Linked DNA regions of Homo sapiens: region 2 is linked to region 1. The links are contacts of gene promoters, found by promoter capture Hi-C in human tissues and cell types (Jung and others, 2019). All regions are on one chromosome and are shown on one strand. The core of a region is centred on a gene start or on the middle of the fragment in contact, and the rest is flanking DNA. Distances in the headings are between cores, read along the strand shown. Region 1 holds the start of CBLN1 (cerebellin 1 precursor). Region 2 has its middle 260 kb from the start of CBLN1.

The links. Contacts are between HindIII fragments. The study calls those that stand out against the background at their distance.
Region 2: a contact is called between a fragment that was not itself captured here and the fragment with the promoter of CBLN1 in region 1, in 2 of the 25 tissues and cell types used here (dorsolateral prefrontal cortex and lymphoblastoid cells).

Annotation. Positions count from the first base shown.
Region 1 is chr16:49,280,152-49,287,485 of GRCh38, forward strand. CBLN1 (cerebellin 1 precursor) reads right to left here and starts at 1,687. Exons shown (of 3, transcript NM_004352.4): 1 at 1,051-1,687; 2 at 772-891. The coding sequence starts at 1,314. It overlaps SYNAGE (synapse stability regulating cerebellar lncRNA), which reads left to right and starts at 1,911. Exons shown (of 4, transcript XR_933530.4): 1 at 1,911-2,081; 2 at 7,216-7,324. RefSeq lists an enhancer at 791-1,408 and silencers at 1,761-1,870, 2,241-2,340. The HindIII fragment of the contact is 18,550 bases long and covers 1-7,334 here.
Region 2 is chr16:49,018,680-49,025,314 of GRCh38, forward strand. No RefSeq gene overlaps it. Among named protein-coding and RNA genes, the nearest start is that of CBLN1, 260 kb to the right of the region's middle. The HindIII fragment of the contact is 3,880 bases long and covers 1,439-5,318 here.

The DNA.
Region 1 (7,334 bases), core at 437-2,936:
CTCCCCAAACCACGGGCTCAATTCCCTCCCCCATCCAGCCGCGCCCGCCACCGCCTGGTTTTGCCCCTGTGGTGGCACCGTCAGCCAAGGGCCTCGCGCCCTCTCCCCAGCTGTGCGTCCCACCTCTCTCGGCGCCCAAGGGAAACCTGGACATCTTTGGGGACCCGGAGAGCCGGCGAGTGATTGCTGGGACACGGCTGGAGCCGGGAGAGAGTAGCACTACGCCCCCTCCCTCCCTCCTCTCTCTACCCCTCACCCTCCGGGGCTAAATGCTGCTAGCTCAAAAACCCACAGTCCGCACGGGGTGGGGATTGGGGACAAGTGGGAGAAAACGGGGGCCCCGTCCGTGGTGCTGAAGACAAGCACGCAAGCCGCATCGCAGGCTTCTGAGCCGGGGCAAGGGGTAGGGTGTACTGTCGCGGTGCTTCCTGGGGAGTCCGGGAAGGCTTCCCAAGCGGCAGCTGTCTGGGGCGCTAACAACAGCCGTTACAAGGAAGTCCCTGAAATCCAGGGAACCCTTCGGAGAGGCCCGGAAGGCAGAAGCAGAAAATTCTGTCTCTCGGGGGATGGGGCTGGATCCCAAGAGCCAGAGACAGGGAAAGCAGAGGACAGTTGAAGCCACAGAACTGAGAGGCCCCGCTATCTGTCCCTCCAAGCAGCCCGAAGTACATGCAGCCGCCACTTCTGCCTACCACCTCCGGACAGCCCGAGCACCCCTGAGGCCAGTAACCCCCCTACGGGGCCAGGGCCCGGCACGAGGCGTCGGCTGACCTGTATGGTTTGTCTGTTGTAGACTTTTACCACGTGGAAGTTAAAACTGTAGATCCCTTTGCGCGGGGCGATGAAAGTGCTGCGTTCTGAATCAAAGTTGTTCCCAATGTTCACTAGTACCTATAACGAGACGGGAACGAAGGGGAGTGGGCAGGAATCGGTCCCGGACTGTCGTCCCCGCGCCTCCGCAGAGCCCTTGGAGAGGACCGGGCATCGGTCTTCCATCCATCCCTCCTTCACCAGCCCAATCTGCACGCCGCGGGAGGAAGGAACACTCACCTGGTCGAAGTAGATGATCATGGTGCGATTACTCATCTCGGACGGCTCGTGGTTGGTGCTCCTGATGGCAGAGAAAGCCACCTTGGCGCTGCCAGAGCGCACAGAGATGCCCAGGGCAGTGCCCGTGGGGTCGGACGTGGGGTTGGAGTCGCACACCACCAGGCACTTGCCCTCCAGCACGATGGGCTCCGTCTCATTCTGCCCGCGGGCCGGGCCCGCCAGCCACGCAGCCCCCAGCAGCAGCAGCTCCAGGACGCCCAGCATCGCGCCGCCGGCGCCCACCCCGCCCCCCACCCCCAGGGCTGCTCGCGCCAGCCGCCCCCCCCGTCCCAGTCCCGCTCCGAAGCCCCCTCCTCAGCTCCGTGCGCAGCTCCGCCGCCGCCGCTCTGGACACTACACCTCTTCCTCGCACTCCGGGACTAGCGTCCCCTCCGCGACTAGCGTCCCCTCCGCGCTGTGTTCCCGGAGCCCCTCCCGGGCCTCAGGGGTGCCGCGGCTGCCCAGCCGCACTTGGATGCATAGCCGCTGCTGCTCGGTCCCGCTGCTGCCGCCGCCTCCTGCCCGCACCCGCCGCTGCCGCCGCCGCCGCCGCTCTGAATTATTGATGCAGCCGGCGCTGCAGCCGGAGCGGGCGGAGAGCGCGCGCCGGGCACAAAGGCGCGGACCTCGGCCTGGCCCCGCCCCCGCCGCCTCCCGGCCCGCCTCCCTCCGAGGCCCTGCCCCCGCCCCGGCCGAGGCCACGCCCCCCAGCCAATCCTGACGCGCCGCGCTCCCCACCGAGCCAATGGCGGCGCTGTCCGCGCTCGGCCACCTGACCCCGGGCGCCGTTGTTATTAGGCGCGGCGAGGCGGGTGGCGCGCGGCAGCAGGGTTGGGCTCTCGCCGTGAGTCGACGAAGGGAGCGCGGGCGCGCGCCCGCGTCCGCGCACTGAGAGTCGCCTCGGCCGCTCGCTTTCTCGACTCCCGCCTCGCGCCTCGATCCTGTTCCGCCTCCCTCGGCCCTCCTGCCCGCCCCCACTCGTCGGCCCTCAGGTAGGAGGCGGCGCGCCCCGGGGTCGGGAGTGGAATCGCTGGAGGCTGCGAGTCGCCTGCCCGCCTGTGGGCGCGCCCGTTGGGAGGGGAGCGCCCCCCAGCGGGCGCGGGCGCGAGGGCAGCCGGCGCGCTGGGCGAGCCTGGCTCAGGGTCCCGGCGGCCGGGGTGCAGGGCGCGTGCGCGCGCGGCGGGGCGGGGCCTGCGCGGCTCTGGCGGGCGCACGTGGTGCCCGGGAGCTGCTGGGCGGGCACTCACCGCGGGGACTCGGTGCGGAGCCGGGGCGCCGAGTGTCTCCGTGTCCCTCTGCCCCAGCCGGCGGCCGCGATGGTGGAGCTTGGCCTCTCGCTCTCTCCCGCCTCTCCAGCGACTGCTCTGCCGGCCGCGGAGGTCGGATCGAGCGGTCATTCATTCATTTGTTAATTCGTTCACTTATTCAGGGGAGATCATTGAACCCCTACGGAGTACCGGGTACTGGGCCGGGCGCTGAGGACGCGGGGCTGAGCAAAAGCAGCCGAGGCCCACCTTCGTGCCCCTTAAAACCCAGCGTGCGGGGCGGCAACGAGTACTGCTTTTCTGTTTTGCACTTAAAATTTACATTTTGCATCCGTACTTTTTATTTACTGTGCACCCTTACGGCATGCTTTACGCACCCGTACCTGCACCTCCTAGCCTTGAGTGTAGACACCAGATCCTGAGATGGGCGATTTTTCGAGAATAATTTTTACCCTAAGTGGATTTTCGTGCCACGCATGGACTTGGAACTACACACACGTAGTCCAAAACGTGAAAGTCAAAATGCAGCTTTGCCAAGTGGCAGGGAGAAAGGAGAGCTGAGAAGATGAGGAGAGGAAGGGCGCGCTCCAGGCTTTCCAGCCCGGGTGCGGTAGACGTAGCCCTGAAGGATGAACCCAGGCTGGTAGTAGGGCGGCGGGAGGGCGGGGGGACCTGTCAGTCAAGTCCAAAGCAGAAACGCGGCGCCGGATCCCAGTCAGAGGCCGGCTGGAACGCTTCCCACAGGCTCCTGGCGCTCCGGTCCCCACCAGGCGACCTTGATCCTGGCGTGCTCAGCGGAGCCAGCGCAGCGTCGGGAGCTGGAGAGACGCGGGGCGCCGGCTGAGCGCTCCTGCCCTCTGCCTCTGGGCTAGCCTCTGGCCCGGCCTCCCGGCCTCCCCCAGGGTACGCTCTCCCCCAAGAGCGAACACCAGCTTTGGGATCGCCAGCAGCCACGTCTCTGCTTCTAGATCTCTTTTTTTTTTCTTTGAGACTTAGTTGATAGCTGTTTAAGGAATTATGTGGAGGAAATCTCACCTCCGACCCCCGCCCCCGTTGAGCACGGCCGGCCAGGGTCGCTGGGTGGGCCAGGAGGAAAGAAAGGGGCGGGGAAGAAGCAGCAATTTTACTTTAAATTAAAATGACACAAAAATATTTTTTCAACTCAGATCTTTCTGAGACATCCCCAGAAAGCGTTGCAAGCTGTGATTACACCTAATGTGAGAGCATGAACTAATTTAAGAGGTGAGAGCTGCATAATGAGGCTGCCTCCCGTGTAGCAGCCAAGACTGGCAGCTCTGGCGGCGCGCTGGAGGGGACCGGGAGGGGCACCCTTGTAGAACCAGTCCCTGGCGCCCTGGGATCTTCTCAGTGCCCTGGCGCTGTGTTGTCGGTCACTCCACAGATATTACAGGGTGCCTCCTGAATGCCGGGTTGCAATCAAGAGCAAGAGATGGGGCGAGTGAAAGAGCCTGTTTTCAGGAGCTCAGCATCAGGATGACGATTACCTAGAGGGAGGTGGTGGCCAGCCTCCCCCTCTTCTCTTCATGCTGAGGCTCTGGTGGGCAGTGCCCAAGCCTGAACTGCCATCTGTATGCCAGTGGTTACCCAACTTGTATTTTCAGTCTTAGCCTCTCTCTGGTCCAGACTTGTCATTCTAAGGGCCCTTTTTCACTGACTCACATTGTCTCCTCCCTCCCTGCCTTCCAAACTCAGCCTTTTCCTTTTTCCCTTTCCCACTGACAACAGCTGCACGACCCCCCCGCCCCCCCACGAGGTGAAAATTCCCAAGAACCCCATGTCTAACCTAACTCCCTCTCTATGTCCTGTTGCTTGAGCCATTCTCATTAGGCTGCCTGTTCGGAGTTCATTATCTCCTAATTTTTCATCCAGGAATTGATGAAGAATCACCTACTGCCTCTCCCACACACTGTTTATTCTTTCATTTGATGATATCTGTTAAGTGCCCTGAGATATGTAACCTCCACTTCCCTCCCATATAAGTGAGATTTCACGTTGATTACTTCCTTGGCTTTCCTCATCCCTTATCCACATAGCATGTGTTCAAAATAATGAATATTAATTTAATGTTAATAGATATGTGCTTTCCTGAATTGTGAGGATTAAATGAAATCATGTATATAGGGAGGAAAATCCATTAGAAACCTCAAAAGCAGTTATGTTTATTTTTGCTATTGTCACATTGTTAGAGTCAGAATTCTTTTAGCTGCAAGTGACAAAACCAACTCAAACTGGCTTAAGGACTTTATTGGTTGATGCAAAAAGCCTCGGGTTAGGTCTTGCCATTTAAGGTAGGGCTGGATCCATCAATCCGGGTTACCAGGATCTGTTTTCTAGTTGTGGCTTCATTTTCAGACAAGTTGTTTCCATATGATAGCCTCATAGAAGGTACTACCAGCTTAGTCCTAGCAAGAAAAAAGAGTACTTACTCTTCAATATTTGCAGCAGAAGTCCCAGGTCTGTTCTTATGAGGGCAGTTTGAGTCACTTGCTCTTCTCTGAACGTGGAGAAGGCACTGTTTAGATGATGGAGGTTGGATTCAGGTGCATCCCCTGGAATGGGGTTTGGCATTAGCTTCACGTGGTCTAGAATAAAGGGGTTCTCCAAAGGAAAATTAGGGTAGGAATGCTGAGTAAGCAGAACAAACAGATGTCTACTTTAGTCCTTCCCAAAGGGTGAGCTGCAATACATTGCAGACTATCAGAATGGTGATGAACACGGATGCAGTAGCCAAGAAAATAGATGTGTGTTTGTCGTGGTCTTTTTCAGTCTTCAAGATCTCAGTTAAACATGAAGTCAACCACTCACTATGATGTTATTTGAGGTTTAGCTTTGAAGTGGAAATGTACCACAAATAGTAGAGCCAGATAAATACAAATAAATAATTTTAACAGTCCATTCTAAAAGATTTCTTTGGTAATATTCTGTTGGAATTGATTTCTATCTTTTCATTTGTTAGGTTCCTGGAAAGTGAAAATTTCATTTCTTTGTGGACAGGTACCTAAAATGTCTCATTATTCATCAATTAATGAAAAACAAATGAAAATTTGAGAGAGATATTCTGAAGAATAAAAGGATCAAGTTGGGTCATTTCTAAAATGTAAGATTATAAGGTTTAACTTGCTAAGACTTTTGAGGGGTTGAATTATTGGTAAATTATTATAGAACCACTTATCTGAGGCTTTTAAAAGTGATGTGTTACAGAGATTTAGGGAACTGCAAGATTGCAGATAAAGAATTTATACTGTCAACTGTTCTATACTTTACCTTCTGCTTTAAATGCGGCCTTATATTTTGAAGTCAAACATTTATTTTCTCTCACTGCGTTCTGAATTTCCTACCACAGTGCATTTTGAGAAATGAATATAACAGCAGTCTTCATAGATGCCATATTCATGGCAACTCTGTCCCCCGCCAACACCACACCCTGGAAAAAAACCAACTTTCTATTGTTGGAATGAGGTAACATTTTCAGGAAAAGGGAACCATTTTCTCACAGGATATAGAACAAATTCAACCTTTTATTAAATCAAAATGGATTCTCTAATGTTTATACATATCATATAGGATTTCATCTCTTTCAATCTTGGTTCAAAGGCCCAGACAGTACCATTCCCTAGTATTTAGTCCATTTGCTCATAAAGCAGAAGAGAAAAGCTACTTTGTTCCGAAGGGTGTTAGATTTAGGATTCCAAGGTTATTTCAAATTAATGCCTGGAACTAGACTATAAAATGCAGGAAAGATTCTAAGTTGTTCAAAGATGAAATATCTTAACTTTCACCAAAAACTCTGTCTTCTGGGTATTTTTTGTTTTTCTGCCTTTCCAGATTTATTTTAAATACAACATTTTTGCTGTTTACATTTTTAAAAGTTACATTTCAAAATTGTTCATAATTGGACACTTTCATAAAATGTAGGCAAATGCAGTTTTACTTTTTAATGAAGGACAAGTCTGTTGATAACATTTTGATTCTTAAAATTTTTTTTATCTTATAAAAATGAAACAATGCATTTAAAGTGTCTTCAGCTCTTATGTTAATACCAAATTATACATTTTCTTAGCCCATGTTCAGGAGAGACAATATATCTTCCAAATTAAGAGAAGCTGGCACCATTTTTAAAACAAGGCCTTGAATCTGCTGTGGTATGTGCTGGTAGGAATTTTGTATGAAGCTGTTATTGAAGTAGATGACATTAAGGTCAAAGGAAAAAAAAAACAGAAAATAATGTAATCCTACAGAGCTGCTCTTAAGATCTTGAGAGAAAAACCACGTAGGTAACATCAAACACTAGTTGGAATCTTTCCAAGAAGTAATTATCTGTGTGCTGTTTGTGGTGGTTGATTATGGGAACAAACCAAGGTTTAGCCAATTCAGCAAACATTTATGGAGTGCCTGCAATGTGCATGTCACTGTTTTAAGGCCTGTGCCTACTGTAAAGGTGACCCACACATGATGCCTGCCTTGCAGGACTTGGAGTTCAGCGATAATAAGAGATGCATACCTGAAAAGCCTATTTAAGACTCTTCCGGTTCTACAAAGAAGGCTTCTTGAAAGTGGTAGCTTTGATTACTCTTTGGATTTATTTACATTTATCCTATAATCAGAAGGTATACAAAACAGACTCACACATATATAAAATTAATAGATTAGATAGCATTTAAACAAATATTTCAGGTAGGTACTTCAAATGCATTTGACATTTATCAAAGAAATGGTAAGTGCTGTCATCCGTGGGTGGCTGGATTAACATGTGGGACTACTTATCACCAATTTTGTTAGGGATCTTAGGGAAATTCCTGGATCTTATATTCACAAGCAATTGTATAAATACTTCCCACAGCTCAGAGACCTAATAGGATGGGGTCTTAGAGAAACATCTTTTGAGCCACAGACTTCTTTGTTACCAGAAGGAAAATGAAAGAAGAAATTTAAATACCACTTGAAGAGAGGTAAATAAAT
Region 2 (6,635 bases), core at 2,129-4,628, 260 kb before region 1:
GATGGAGTAGGAGCTCAAAAATAATTCAGTGAATCCATTTCTGCTGTGCCAGCAAATTTGGGCTTGTCCACCATGTACATCTGCATTCTTATCACCCATTCATACAGACAGGATTCATCCAAACATTTCTTCCCTATGAGGATACTCAGGACAATGCCAACACCCTCATTGGATGCATGGGGAAATTGAGGCTCGGCAGAGTTAAGAGACTTGCCATAGGCCAGTGAGTGGCCACTTCAGGATAAAAGCGCAGTCCCACCTTGACGTTTCACCAGACCCAGCTCTTTGATCTGTGGACAGAGAAACAATCTTATTGACAGGCAGACCAAAGGGTGTGTAGTCATGCCACGTTCTTTGTTATCAAGGATTGAAACATGACCAGCTCCCCCCACCCCAGGCAATTTACCCAAGACACCCTTGATGGTGATTTTGCCTGACAGGTACTGCCCAGGCACACACTCCAATAAAGGGCTGGCCTCCTCCCCATTATGCCCTCTCCCTGCCTCTTTCCGCACACAGGCTCCTGCCTCCAAGGGCACTGGCTTCCTGACCAGCCAGCCATGCTCTAAAGCGCAAACAGGGTAGGAAATGAAAACCCCAGGAAGAGCAGATGATGCGGGCGGGGGGTGGAGGTACCTCCACTCAGTGCGATCTGTCGGCTCCCCAGGCTGGCAAGAAAAACTTAAACATTATTTACTCAGCCATGTGCGAGTTAAAACCAATATCTGCCGGCCATCTGTTCAGCCCAGTGACCCCTTGGAATTTCACGCCCCTTCCCGGTGACGTCAGCATCATTCCTTCTCATCTTTCTCTCTGCTCCCTGGCTCTGCTCCCTTCCCCAGGGCTGAGATGGGAAGGGGAGGGAAAGGTCGGTGGTGACCAGGGCAGCACCACAGAGCTCCTTCCAAACGCACAGCCATGGAGGTTATTGTTAAACTTCCCGCACTTGGCATTCAGGGTCACTTGTGCCTTATGAGGTTTCTATCATATTCATTGGGGTTCAGTGGGAGCCCTAGATCCTACCATTCACTTCCAGTGGCCCTGACTCTGAATGGTGTGACCTTGAGCAAGTTGCTTCCTAGCAGTGCTGGGTCTTGGCTCCTGATGGAGGAAACGGACCAGCCCTTCTTTAACATCCCCTTGAGTTGTAATGTCTCCCTAACCCCTCCTTCTTGGGTTTTATACCCCATTTCTGACTCAGAACCCTCATACCAGACATTGCCACGTTCTCCTCCTCCAGGGAGGCTCCATTCCCTGCTGCGCCCATTTATCTATATCTGCCAAGGAAGGCTCCCCACCACGATGCCTTCCTGTTACCTGGCAACCATCATCACCACACAGGGCTGCTAGCCTGCCGCCCCGCCTTCCACGTGTGCACACACTTATATACACAGGGCCGGGCCAAGGAGACTGTGAGGCACAAAAGCGAGCTGTGGCGCCTGAGCAGGAACCAGCAGGGAACGTGCAGGGAAAAGGTCCTGGCACAAAAAGCGCTGGGTAGAGAAGGAGAGTGGCGCTCCAGCTGCAGTGCTGAGGTCCACTGCTGTGCGCCCTTGCATAAACTGTTTCTGACTCTCAGCTGCAGTTTCCCATTTGTGCAGCCAGGGTGATGAATTCAGTTATTCCTTACCGGCTCTCCAGGACAATTATTTTGCATAAGAAAATACCTGGGTAATCTTGGACGATATCTGGAGTTGGGCATAGTTCTTATAGCCATGGCCCTGCTGCATTTCTCTACTTGCAGACAGGAGTTAAGGTAGTGACTGAGGTCAATCAGGTGGTGGCTGTGACTCCCAACTAATGGTGTGCTAGAGACCCTTCCCAACTGGGTGTTCAGTGAAGTTGTGTCAGGAGCTTGGACACTACATTGGCCATAGTGGGTGTATTTACTTCATGAAAATTGGCAAGTGCTACATATCAAGGATTTTTATTTTGAGAGCCGGTTGTTACACATTTATCAGCGCACTTACTGTCTTCAGCCCCTTTAGACAGCCTGCAGGAAGACTTCTCACCAAGGGAACTTCCTTCCTTCCTGAGTTTCCCCCGATGACTTCCAGACCTATGTGCTTTAGGGAAGGTGTTCCATTGCCCACTGCCAGCTTTCCTGCCTGGCTTTCCCCCGGTGGGCTTCCATGAATGCAGATACAGAGTCGGGAGAGAGAAGGGAAACGGGCACTTGCTTTTAAGGACTACGTGTTCGTGGCAGGCCAGAACAAATTGCACAAAGGCTAGATTACTTATGTACTATTAGGAAGATCGTTAATATCAGGGTGTTAAAATATGTAAATAGCATAAATATGCCCCACATCCTAATTACTGTTTTGCATGATCAAGTCATTTACTCTTTATGACATTTTATGATTGTTCAGCTGTGTCAGCGAACACTTAGCACAACCTCCTACCACAGATGATGAAGCTATGGAGTTTTCCCAGTTTCCTGGCCAGGAACAGCGGGGTGGGGGTGGGGGCGGCATCAAGGCAAAACAAAGCCTCCCTGTCCCTATTCCAGGTGCCTCCACTGTGGAGGAAGACACCCATTGTTGGAGATTCTTTTTGTGTGAGCAACATATGTTCCTGCTTCCTGGCATTTTCCCCAATGTTCTGTAATACCGATTCTGGTGGAGGCAGATTTATATGCAGGCTAATGAGAGCTGACATTTCTTGTGCTGGTTGCTACATTTGCTGTGTTGATTTAACGCAGTGCAGGTTCAACCAACCGCAAAGCAAGTTTCCCTGAACCTTTCTGTAAAGCAACTTAACAGTCACGATTGGAGAAGCTGCCTGCTCCGTGAAGCACGGTGACTTTCGGGATATCCAACCAGGATCCCAGAACGGATTTCTGCCTGCTCTTTGGGCTTTCTGCTCAGCTTCAAAAGAAGCTTCTCGCTGGCATGGAAGTGTTTGAATTTGATGGCCACTTTGCTTTTTTTGAAGAGTTAGTTTAAACCAGAGGTCTCACCTGGGTGGCATAAAAACCAGTTACTGTTCATAGGCATATTTTGTTTGGCTCTCACGGTGTTAAAAATGATTTTATTTGCCAATTTTAAAAAATCGGGACATTTCACATAAAATTTAGATTTCTGGCTTCTCTGAAAAAATACAAAGGTCTGGAAATGATTGCCTGACATTAACACGAGGCAACCTCCAACTGGGGGCGTAGGCGTGCATATAGCAGAGTGGGCAGGATATAGCTTCGGACTTCATTCAGATGGCCTGGGTTCAAATCCAAGCCCCACAGCTTAATTGCTGTGTGACTTTGGGCCATTTACTTAGCTTCTCTGTGCTTCAGTCTCTTTATCTATAAAAAAGGAGATAGCCCCCATGGCACTTAGTTATAAGCACTAGAACAGTGTCTGGCACTTATTAAGAGCCGTTTAAGATTTATTCATTATGATGAACAGCTACTGCCTTTAGATGGGGCTTATGCATGTCCTGTGTGAAACCCTGGAAGTTTCCTGAGTTAAGACACAAGATGTGAAGCAGAGACTACCTTGTGGTGAGTCTCATGAAGCTTCCAGCTATCAGTAATATTGAGGGTGCGGGATTTGGGGTCCTTCTGCACAGCCGGAGAGGAAGCAGGAGGAAAAGGGAACATCCTAAGGTTCTCCTTGCATTTTTACCATCAACTGTTTACAGCAGTCAAGGTCCAATGTATTCCCCCAAATGACAGGTTCACAGAGCTCACATCTGCATACTGGAGATTATTAAAGATAGGGTATTGCTGGCAGGAAGAAGGGAACGGAGAGGTGAATGGAAACAATTTCCATTAAAATGGAGTTTGGAGACAAAAGGCACATGGAGAACTATTTTAAGCCTAAGGCAGGTGACGCTGGATTCAAAATTTAATGAGCCTTAAATGCCATTGGATGAATATAGCCGGAGACACATGGTTACATCAGAAAGGGCCCACACAGTTGCATGCTTTCCCACAATACTCCATTTTTTTAAAGGCTCCTTAGAACTAACAAGCTAAACCTCAGTCAAATGAGGAGTCATAGTCATTTGCAGGTAAGTGATCTTTCAGCTGCACAGAGAGAGGTACCCTACTTGGCTGCTGGGGAGCCGGCGGTGACTCAACCTGGGCGTGGGGACACAGACTTCCATGCTTGCGGGAAGGTCCCCTGGCAGATCGACCATCTGCAAGTGCCCTCCATGTTTCCTGGATTTCCAGGTCTTATGCCTCCTCTCCCCCAAGCCCTCACTGGGACGTACCCTTGGCTTCGCGGCGGGGTGGGTTTGTCTGCTGTCTGGACAGTTGTGTTTCCCTGCAGGGTGCTGCTCAGTGGCTGGGCTCAGGTAAAGAGCTTGCATTTGTCCAATGCATAAACGGGGGAAGCAAATTCATTTCACAGCTGAGGTTGCCAGCCTCTGACAAGACCAGGGAACTTGGAAAAAAATGAAGCCCCCTGCTGCCTGTGAAATGCCTGTAAAATCAGATGCAAGAGCCCCCACAATAGCATAAGTTCCTAAGGGCCTTTCTGGCCTCCCCTGCAAGCCTGGGCAGCTTTCCACATGGACTGTAGCCATGGGAAACAAACATCCGGGGTCGGATTTTCCTGGATCAGTTATGGAGAAGGAGTAACAGAGGTGTCAGGGCTGACTAGAACCCTCTCCTGCCCCCTTCACGCTTGCTGACTCACACCCCTGCACCACTCCACTCTGCCAATTTCCTGCAGATCAATGCTGCACACACTTGCTCATGAAAATACTCATCTCCAAAGCTTCCGCTGTTCTCACCCCACTGTGCTGATTTTTGCCACACCCCTCCTGTCAGTATTTACTTAGTGTAGGACATTTTAACACCTATGCTAGCCTCAGCATCAGCCATAAAGCCTGTAAAATCACAGGTTTGAGGTGCCAGCTTTATTGTTTTCTACTATACATTAAAATCAATCCTAACCACGTGACAAATGTTTCTCTGCGTACCACCTAACATGATCCTGTGAACCACCTTTGCTGGAGGTATAATACTTCTGGGACACCATGCTGGAGGAAATGGGATGAACTTGTTGCTGTGGAAAATCCCGGAGGGGATGCAGCACAAGGTTTGTGGCTGAAGAGGACTTGAATTCAGACCCAAAGAATGAGAAAAGCAATCTCTTGAGGTGTGGTTGGGAGATGCATTCCACCCCCACCTCACCAAAAGACTTGACTGGTCTTTCAAGTTAAAGATAGCAAGCATTTTAGGCTTAGAAATCCAGACATGAAAATGGAAGCATAAAGAGAGAGGGGTGGGCTGAGAGACGGGCACTGGCTTTCATTTGGGAAGGAGGAAGGGGCATGTTTTGCAAAGTAGCTCCTGGGAGCTGGCAGGAGGGAAGGTTCATGCTGCCTTTGGAGCTGTTCTTCCTGGACCGCAGGGCCACAGAACAAAAGGTCTTAAGGCCTGAATTTGTGCGCTTTGGCTGGCATAAAAAAGGACCACAGGTCGGGTGGCTTAAACAACAGGACTTCATCTTCTCATAGCTCTGGAGGCTGGGAGGCCAAGATCAAGCTGTCGGCAGGGCTGGCTTCTCCGAGGCCTCTCAGGTAGGCTTGTAGCTGGCCACCCTCTTACCATGTCCTCATATGGTCTTCCTTTTGTACAGTCTACGTCCCAGTTTCCTCTTCTTACATGGGCACTGGTCAAAGTGGATGAGGGCCCACCCGAATGACCTCATTTAACCTTAATTACTTCTTTAAAGACTCTGCATCAATCAGATCACATTCTGAGGTATCTGGGGTTAGGGCTTCAACATATAAATTTGGTGGGGTTGGGGAGTAGGGGCAGGGAGAAAAGTCAACTCATAACAAGGCCTTTAGAATCAAAAAAGAAACTGATGGGTTAGAACTCCAACTGCTGCCGCCAGTGATGGGAATTCTGGCTCAGCCTCAGGAGTTCAAGGAGAACAGGAACCTCCTGGCATCCAGGAGAAGCTTGTGTTTAGCCCTGTGGGATCCAGCGGGCTTCAGGGACTGGGGTCCTGGCTCCTCCTCCACAATAGGGGTTGGTGATACAGAGGAAAAATATCCAGAAGAATTAATGAGGGATCCCCTCTGGTATTTCCTATTATCTCACAACCCTCCCCACTGGGTCAGGAGACCATGGACCCTACAATCTTCAAGAGAGAGGTGTCACATTAGCATCGGAGGGCAAAGAAATCAGACTCATAACCCAAGGTTAAGGCTGAAGACGAAGACTTAGAAGCACACGTGACAGTTTCAGGCAGGTTTTGCTGCCCCAGAGGAAAATTCTCTAGTCTTGGACAGGAAGAGAAAAATTGGACAGGAATATAAAGAGTGACAAGGCCTGTGGTTTTCAGAAGGCCATGAGGCAGCCTCCCAGCACTTCTTGGGATTCCAGACTAAGGTTGGAGGGCGCCCATTCCTCCCCTGCCCGCTGCATGTGAGAAGAGCAGGCAAGTCACTGACAGCAGGAGCCGGGCTGGGAGAGGCCCAAAGGTCAGGAGTGAAGGGCGCTGCAGACACAACCCACGTGTTGTGACAGCCAAGAATCAGATGCATGATGCACTACTTTCAAGGACACCGGCATGGACACGTCACAACTGAGGACCAGACACTCCCACCCCCATCTCCCACTGCCTGTGAATCCTGCCCCCAGAACTTAGAAACGACCTTCGGGGAAGGGGAAATCT